Linked DNA regions of Homo sapiens: regions 1 and 3 are each linked to region 2. Evidence: promoter capture Hi-C in human tissues and cell types (Jung and others, 2019). All regions are on one chromosome and are shown on one strand. The core of a region is centred on a gene start or on the middle of the fragment in contact, and the rest is flanking DNA. Distances in the headings are between cores, read along the strand shown.

The links. Contacts are between HindIII fragments. The study calls those that stand out against the background at their distance.
Region 1: a contact is called between a fragment that was not itself captured here and the fragment with the promoter of PSME2 in region 2, in 1 of the 25 tissues and cell types used here (dorsolateral prefrontal cortex).
Region 3: a contact is called between the fragment with the promoter of NGDN here and the fragment with the promoter of PSME2 in region 2, in 1 of the 25 tissues and cell types used here (dorsolateral prefrontal cortex).

The regions. Positions count from the first base shown.
Region 1 is chr14:23,619,326-23,622,245 of GRCh38, forward strand. No RefSeq gene overlaps it. Among named protein-coding and RNA genes, the nearest start is that of DHRS2, 16 kb to the right of the region's middle. The HindIII fragment of the contact is 4,229 bases long and covers 1-2,920 here.
Region 2 is chr14:24,144,819-24,147,861 of GRCh38, forward strand. It overlaps PSME2 (proteasome activator subunit 2), which reads right to left and starts at 1,792. Exons shown (of 11, transcript NM_002818.3): 1 at 1,716-1,792; 2 at 1,390-1,422; 3 at 892-954; 4 at 561-647; 5 at 425-455; 6 at 240-337. The coding sequence starts at 1,763. RNF31 (ring finger protein 31) reads left to right here and starts at 2,680. Exons shown (of 21, transcript NM_017999.5): 1 at 2,680-3,043. The coding sequence starts at 2,881. RefSeq lists silencers at 1,838-1,897, 2,598-2,687, 2,718-2,947 and enhancers at 2,208-2,277, 2,415-2,915, 2,462-2,756. The HindIII fragment of the contact is 10,846 bases long and covers 435-3,043 here.
Region 3 is chr14:23,468,049-23,471,004 of GRCh38, forward strand. It overlaps NGDN (neuroguidin), which reads left to right and starts at 1,655. Exons shown (of 11, transcript NM_001042635.2): 1 at 1,655-1,679; 2 at 1,994-2,053; 3 at 2,858-2,929. The coding sequence starts at 1,668. RefSeq lists a silencer at 1,282-1,331 and an enhancer at 1,418-2,358. The HindIII fragment of the contact is 24,550 bases long and covers 1-2,956 here.

The DNA of each region.
Region 1 (2,920 bases), core at 349-2,848, 530 kb before region 2:
AAAGATTGGAGAATTGCTTGAATCTGGTACAAAGACTAAAGCAAAGTAATACTGTATCATGCACAGACCTCAACTCTGTGAAGACAGTCCCTCATGCTGTAGGAAGTCAGCCTTGAATATCTAGGCTTAGGGGAGGCTGAGAAAGGTCACCACTGGAGAAGTAAGCGGTTGGGGCAGGTCAGGATCCAGGGCTCTCAATTCTTATGGAGAGATTTTGCTTTTTTAAAACATCAGACCTGCTGGTGTTTGCACTCAGTTTTCTTTCTTATAAAAATCAACTCTATTGAGATGTACTGCCCAATCAAGATATAGAACATTTGCATCACCCTAGAAAACTTCCTTGTGCCCCAAATCACATCACTGATGTGATTTCTATCACTATAGCTGAGTTTTGTCTATCCTAGAACTTTGTGTAAATTGTCCTTTTCTTTTGACTTTATGTAGTTTTTTTCTCATGTGGAAGAAAAAGAATTATTGTAGGTTTATGGTTTTTAAAAAATATTCAAATCGGATTCATCTGACATTTATTTTGGTGTAGTGTGTGAAAGGCACAGATCTAATCTCATTTATTTTCTCCCAGAGAGCTACCTGGTTGTTTCAACATCATTTATTGACAAATGTATCTTTTTTCTCACTGGTTTAAATGCCACCTTTATCATACATTAAATTCCCAAGTGTGCTCAGGTATATTTCTGGACCGTCCGTTCTTTTCCTTTGATGTGTTTATTCATGTCTCAATACAATACTCTTTTAATTATGGTTGGTTTATTTTTAAAATGTCTCATATTTTAGAATTTTCTGCTCTATCTCTTCAATGGGTTACTTCTCACCAAGGTTCCCATATTAGTTATCTATTGCTGCATAACAAATTATCCTAAAACTCAGCAGCTTGAAAATGTGTTATCTCACACTTTCTGAGAGTCAGGAACCTGAGAGCACTGTAGCTGGGTAGTTCTGGCTTAGGATCTCTCAAGAGGTTGTGGCTATGCTGTCAGCAGGGCTGCAGTTGTCTCAAGACTTGACTGGGGCTAAGAGATTCGCTTCCAGGCTCACTCACATGATTGAGCAAATAGGCCTTAGTTCCTCACTGGTCTCAGTTCCTCGCTGGCTGTTGGCTGGAGGACTCAGGTCTTTACCACATGGGTTTGCAATAGGGATGCTCCCAATATGGCAGCCAGAGTGCTGAGAGAGAGAGAGAGGAGAGAGAGAGCAAGCCCAAGACAGAACACTCTGTTTTTTACAGCCTAACCTTGGAAGTGATGGACCATTACCTCTGGCAACTCTGGTGTGGTGTGAGAAACTTATGTGGGTGCGAGTACCAGTGGGCAGGGATCATAGTGGCCATCTAGAGGCTGGCTCCCACAGTTCCAATCCTGGCTCTCTTCTCTTTTCACTTTCTTCACGCTCCTGGGAGCTCTATTCCATTTGATGAGGCTGCTTCTACCTATGACCAATAATCCCCAAATAATTATCCTTATCGCTAACTCAGTCTTGAACTCTGGAACTATTTCCAATTGCAGGGATACCTCCTCTGAAATATCCCATAGTGATCTCCATGCCTTTAATGATGCTTTCCTGGGGAACCGTCTGAACCTTAGACCTACTTCTATTTTGACATGTATCCCTGCGTTGCATTTATCTGATTCCTCCATTAGACTATAAGCTGATTTTTATTTATTTATTTCTGTAAGCTTATTGAGGGTAGGGACTATGTTTTCATTATTTTTTTGTGTTTGCAGTACTTGGTGCCTAGCATGAAGTGGGGTCTGGAGCCTGCTTGAGTTTGGGGCTGTGGACTCATGGGTCCATCTGTTTCCATTGTGTGACAGCATCTCTGGAGACAGCCAGACTGGCAAGAATGGGTCCTCAAACTGTGCTTTGTACTTTTTTTTCTTCTTTTCCTTTCCCTCTTCCTCCTCCCAGTCTCAAGAGGTAACTTTGAGACAAACTGCATATATGTTACCTTTCATCTCGAAATAACAATCTCAGAATGTGCTGTGAACCTCCACTCCCTTTCTTTCCCATGCTATGCTCCCATGCCTTATGTATAGTTATTTACCTAAAGGCTTGTTAAGCACAAACCATGTTCTCTTATCTGCAATATATTTCCTTAGAAGCTTTGTTGCAGTAGGTAGTCAGGCAGACATGAGCAGGGCAGGAGAGAGCTCCCCACCACACACCAGGAATACCAGTTGTTATGCTGTTTCTCTAAAATAATAATTGGCCACAGCTGGTGCCAGGGAACGGCCATCTCCCAATACATAGAAACACCTGAAGCTGGTGATCAGCAGCTTCCAGATAAGATCTCAGGAGTTGGGTGAGTGGGCTCAAGCATGCACATCAAGAGGTAAAATGGCTGAGTTTAACTGGTATATGACCACCTTCTAGGAATACTCGACTGGTAAGGGAAGAATGCTTAAAGTGAGCATGCGTACAACTCCAGTAAACACACTGCACATGAAGTCCCTGTCAGGTGCTGGCAGGCCATTGCACATGCAGAATGCCAATATGTAAGAACTCAAGTCCAAGGTCAGACCTGGCACTCGATCTCTCAAGTTGCTTGCTTGGCCCTCTTTCTAGCATACTTTACTTCCTTTCGTTCCTGCTCTAAAGCTTTTTAATAACTTTTCACACCTGCTTCAACACTTGCCTGGGTCTCTCACTCTGCCTTATGTCCTTCAGTTGAATTTTTTCTCCTGAGGAAGCAAGAATTGAGGTTGCTGCAGACCTGTACGGACTCACTGCTGCTAACATACTTTAGTGCCATGTGGCTCGGATACATTCCCTAGTGGTAAGAGATCTCTACCTCTCACCTTCTTCAGCTGGAGGTGTTCAACCCCTGTACACAGTTTCCTTCTGTCTTTTCACTCTCCTGCCTACTAACCAACCCTCAGAATGATTCCTGTCAGCCACAGAGGCT
Region 2 (3,043 bases), core at 542-3,041:
CAGCAGTAGGTTCTGAGGTTACAGAGTGGATACTGCACAGTCTCTAATTTTGGGGGTACCGTTGTGATAAGAGAGGTCTAACAGAACGAGGAGAACAAAGGGGATCTAAGCCCAAGGCACAGAAGGAAGTTTTCTTTTTCAGGACTAGGTCTCTGTATGAAGGACTTGTATCTACGGAGGAGTCCAGGGCCTCACCTTGTGTGTCTTCTCTTTCTGCTTCCCCCATTTCCCAGGCTTACCAGAATGCATTTCTCTTTGAGAGTCCAGACTTCTGGCTTAACCAGGGCAAGCAGGGACAGGACTTTCTCATTCCCAGGGAGAAATCCACACTTATGGACTGTGAGAAAGAGGGGATTCAGGCCCTTTCTCATCCAGTAGTCAGTGTGCCATCACCCCTTCCCTAGTCACCTCTTATCTCTCTTACCTTCTTTCTTCTCCTGCTTATCTGTTTCCATCTAAGGCAAAAAGGGGGGAAAGTAGCTTTAGAAAAGTCACAGAGGTTGAAGGGCTATCTTCTCCATTGGGTTTATAGTCCAAGTCCTGCACCCTGAGTGCCTCACCTCATCATCCTTGGGTGGAGGGTCTGGGATGGGGATGTCCAGTGGGGCCCGGAGGGAAGTCAAGTCAGCCACATTGAGGGAGTCCTCCTGCACAGAGCTCACTGTCAAGGGCTGCCCAACCTCTTCCCTTCATCCTAGGTCACAGCCTTCCCTCCATACATCCCACTTGCACTCTGCCTCCCAACCTAGGCTCATGCCTCACGCCATCCTAATGTTCCTAATCCACTATTTGAAACTATTCTCTGCATGCTGAATCCAGTTGTTAGCTAGAGAGGGTGGGCAAAGGGGATAGAGGACATAGGATGGGGCAGAAGGGGCCCACACTACTCACTTGCAAGAGCTGATTCAGGTATATGATTTTCTGTGGCAAGAATCTGTAGAGGAATTCCTCAGCCTGTGGGTTACATTGCAAGGGAGGGGAATCACAGAATATGCTCAATGAGATGTCTGACAAATGGAACTGGAAGGGCCTTTGGAAATCACTGGGTCCAAGACTTGCAAATGAGGAAACTGAAGACCTGAAAATGAAAGGACTTGCCCAAGCTGGTAAATGGCAGAACGAAGGTTAGGACTGTGATATTCCTGCTTTGGAAGCCATGGTTTTTTTCCTCCACATCAAAAGACGGGAGAAGTGCCAGAAGTCGGGAGAGTCATAAGAAAGGTCAGATTAAAGGTAGCTATCAATAATTCCGGGGTTACTTTGGGTGAAGGCTTGGTAAGGGAAGTAGGGTTAAGTCTAGGGTGACTTGGGGGGGTCATTCTGAGAGGCTGTTATCCTCAAGTATTGGTCCAAGATTCTGGGTCAAATCGCTCAAATCCAGAGACTTACCTCCTGGAAAAGATTCTGTCTGAAGACCTCCACCTACACAGAGAGCAGTACCCGGATGTTGGTTAAGGGTCTGGGTTGTCAAAAGCTTCCACCCACAACAGGGTGCCCTCGAACTGTGGCTCAGGCCTTTCTCACCACAAACTAGCTTTCCCTGGAAGCTCCTGCTCACTGCAGTCAGAAGGCAGGAATCTGGGAATCCCCGAGAAGTGAAGGCACTAGCGAGATTGGGGGAGTTCTCTGGCACTGCTTGGTCCCCTGAACCACCCAGCTTGGCCTCCACCCAAGAGGGTTCTATGACCCCTTCCTGGCCTCCGATTCCCCATTACCTGTTTGCGGGCTTCCCCGCTCAGGCGCACCCCACACGGCTTGGCCATGCTGCTTCAGTCGCTAGATCTCTGGTCTCCCGGCTAGTCGCCCGGGCTTTCGCTTTCACTCCCCAGGTCCAGGCCCGCCCCCCTCAACCCCGCCCCCTTTCTTCTTTCCGCCCCCCTCCTCCCGCTGGCAGGCCGCAAGCAGTAGGTAGCCCCTCAGCCATTCCCAGCCAGTTGCCACTAGGAGAGGCGGTGCTGGCTGGGTCACAGTCCAGGGGCTGCCCGAGGGAGGGGCTAGGGTAAGTGGGACCGCGGAGACTGGAGCGGGGGCTGTCCCTCGGAGAGGGGCGGGGCTTATAGCTAGGGCCAACTGGAAGTCCAGGGTTGGGGTAAGAGAGGTGGGAGTATGGCAAAGGGGGTATTCAGTGGCGGGGCTCCCCCAAGAAGGCTCGACCGCAAGTAGCGGACGGAGAGAGATCAGAGCGAGTGGGAGGGGCAGCCAGAGGGAGCGCCTGGGGTGGAGAAGGACTAGCAGCTCTTAGAAGAGAGCGGGCAGGGGTTGGGTGAGGGTCTTCCCTCTGCCTTCAGGACAGACCGGAGATGGGGCGGGACTCGCTCGAGAGGGGTTAGGGCCGGCCAGAGTCGGTTCCCCTGCAGGGTGGGACTTCCTCGGTGAGGCCCGGAGCGTACCGGACTGGTCCAGCTAGAAAAAGAAAGGTTTTGAGCTGAATAGGATAACCCCGCGCCTGCGGCTATCCGGAAGGGGTGGAACCAGATTGGGGGAAGGCGGGGAAGAGCGCTTGACTGAGGGAAGATGCTGGCGCGCTCTGAGGGAGGAGCCAGGAGCCATTTGCCTTCTCATTGGTTGGGACCTGGCCCTCCCTCTTGGCCGCGCCCCCTGGTTTCCTGACACCGCTCCAACCTTAACCTTAAGCCCCGCCCGTTCCTCCGAAATTGGGTCGCAGTCCCACCCTCTCTCCTAGTACTTCCTGTTCTCGGCTAACCCTGGCGCTGGGCCGGGGGCTGGAGAGTGACCGTGGTCTGAGTGACCTGGGGCGGCTGCGTGGGCCGGGGTGGGCCTCAAAGCCGGGCACCAGACGGGAGGGGCGGCGCTCGGGCCGCGCGCTGCCCGCGCCGGGTCCTGGCGGGCGGCGAGGCTGGGGCTGACTCCTGCCTCAGGATGCCGGGGGAGGAAGAGGAGCGGGCCTTCCTGGTGGCCCGCGAGGAGCTGGCGAGCGCCCTGAGGAGGGATTCCGGGCAGGCGTTTTCCCTGGAGCAGCTCCGGCCGCTACTAGCCAGCTCTCTGCCGCTAGCCGCCCGCTACCTGCAGCTGGACGCCGCAC
Region 3 (2,956 bases), core at 405-2,904, 680 kb before region 2:
TAACATGGTGAAACCCTGTCTCTACTAAAAAAAAAAAAAAAAAAAAAAAAATCAGCCGGGCGTGGTGGCAAGTGCCTGTAGTCCCAGCTACTCGGGAGGGCGAGACAGGAGAATCGCTTGAACCCGGGAGGCGGAGGTTGCAGTGAGCCGAGATCGCGCCACTGCACTCCAGCTTGGGCAACAGAGCGAGACTCGGTCTCAAAAAAACCCAAAATATGGCAGTGCAATTTGTTTTCTCATTGCTATCATAAAGCATATGAACAAACTAAATTTCAAATTCCCCGAAAAGGAAAAGTTTATTGCTGATCTAATTAGACAGGTCCGAAAATTTATGTAGAAATAGAAACTTTTCATAATACAAATCTTGATAAAACATTACAAAAGCTACTGGATAATTGACTAAGTATGCTGCAACAGCATCCTGAGCTTCCACAGTGGGCCTGAAGCAGCAAATTAAATGTTAGAGGAGTGGGGACTGAACACCCTCCTGCCTTCTTGAATCCAGCAAGATCTAGATACCAGGATTTCCTTACCTCACCTGCCCAGATACAGGTGTTATTCTTAATTCCAAAAGACAGCTTCAAGTCGGTAAGATCTGATTTCTAGACCCAGCTCTGTTGGACGAGTTGTGAACAAAAAATTATACACTATCATTCACCCTTTCGGTGCTTTATTTCCTAAGGCATGGGATGGGAACAATGAGTATCCGTCCAACCTACTTCACCAGCTTGTGAAAAACCAGAGTGAGAGAACACATCTGAAAGCACTGGGTAATGATGAGGCAGGTTATACTGAAACATGCACTGCCAGAGTTTGAACCAAGTTCTGCTGAAGACCTGTGTGACCGCGGTAAGTCATGTAAATATGAACCGTTCCCCAATTTGTAAAACGTATTCTTTTCATGTCCCCAAACTGGTAGGAGCGAAGAGTGTCGGGGCGTTATTGGAGCCGTTTCTCAGCGCTCCACAGTGCACACCAAGAGGGCAGGTGTCCTCGCACTCGGTTTCTAAACTCTGGCTCTGGGCTTCTCTAGCCTCGCTCTCTTATTTACAGATGAAGAAGGCTCAGAGACCGAGTGACTTGTCCACGGTCACACAAGGAGTAGTGTTACAGAATCGATTCCAGGGCCACCGGGTCTGTAAGGCATTTGGCGCGGTGGCCGTTGGATGAGCAGCCAGCAATGGCGGCTCTGCAATGTCGACACCGCAAAGCCAAGCCAAGGCCCATCACCTAGCGGCCGGTTCACGCACTACAAGAAAAGTGCCGTGAAAAAAGACTCTGGGTGCTGCGGCAGACGGGAGCCAATACGCGCTAAGTTCGCTCTGCTAATTCCTTTTTTCTATTGGTCCTTCCAACTGTCAATCAATTATTTGACTGTCTCTTATTGGCTTGCCGTCAATCATTTTACTCAGTCTACCAATCACACGCTCTTTGCCAAGTGCTTTTTTTCGTCCTGACGACTCTTTCTGAGTCTGACGAATTTAGCCAGTTCCTTTATTCCATTGGCCAGATCAGACTCCTCCTCTCGTTTATCCTGTTGGGGGCGGAAGTGAGAAAGCCCTTATTCGTATTGGCTTAGATTTGCAAGCGGCAGTTGTCTATCAAATCTATCAAGTCGCCCTTAGCGCTCAGGAAGTACGACACCGGAAGGGGTGGGCTTTGCGAAGATGGCGGCGCTGGTGAGTTTGGTGTGGTTTCTTCCTCGCGTAGCTATTGTGGAGTTGTCCTTTGCCTTCAGCGGCTGGAGGCAAACTGTTGGTACCAGGGAAGGGTGGTGATGAAAGTTGCTTCAGGGAGGCGGCCTCCCTAGAGTTACCGTTCCTGTCCGGTAACCCAAGGGGCTGGCTTTAAGGCGAGTCTGTGAACCCGAGTGTGAAGGCCCCGAGTCTGGGTGTCTGACGGAGAGAGGGCAGTTTCCCACCCTAGACGTTCCACTTTCCTATAATCCTGAGGAAAGAATGACTTTTCTTTACGCCTCCTCTCCCTTCTGTAGGGGGTGCTGGAGTCCGACCTGCCAAGTGCCGTGACACTTCTGAAAAATCTCCAGGAGCAAGTGAGTAGTGTCGCCTCTGGAATAAATTAGTCACGGATTGGCTTTGAGTTTGTGTACTTCACCTCAAAACTTTGGTGATTGAGATACGTGAATGCTTCCAAAAACCTTAGAGTAAAATGATGTAATCAAAACCTTTTCACGCCAGAATTCTAAGTAATTGATTCTGCACCCAAGGGAATACAAGAAACTCCAAAAAGAAATTATATGAATAGTTTTCCTTTATTCATATAGCTAAGGAAACCAGTGCTTGGAATGGTAACATGACTTGCCCTTTGGGTGCCCAGGTAATACACACTTATATACAGATGCTTCTCGACTTAACGATGGAGGTTATGGCCTGATAAACCCATTGTAATTCGAAAACCTCATAAGTCGAAATTTAGGCTTGATGCCGCTGCCCAGCATCACGAGAAAAGGACGGTTTCTACCGAATGCATATTTCTTTTACACCCTCGTAAAGTGGAAATTAAGTCATAAGTCGGGGAGTTATGTAGTTCTATGCATTGTAAGTTCAACTAGTACAAACAAAATTACAGTGCTTCAGTCACTACTCTCTCAGTCCTTTTCTCCTCCCTGTGGTTCAGTAAAAGATGGTCTCTTCTTTAAGAAGTGGAAAGTTTTTTTTTTTTTAAACTTTTTGAAGAACCATCTCTCCTATGCTTTCCGAGAAGTGAGAAGATAGTACTATACTTTAGACAGTGTTTCAGATAATTTTTAGGTGGCATTGTTTAGCTTTTGCTCTTCACAGTTTGCAGACATAATTTGATATAATCTAATCACTTGTTTTATTTGGGCTAATTTCAGGTGATGGCTGTAACTGCACAAGTGAAATCACTGACACAAAAAGTTCAAGCTGGTGCCTATCCTACAGAAAAGGTAAGATGTACTCAAACAGTAAGCATC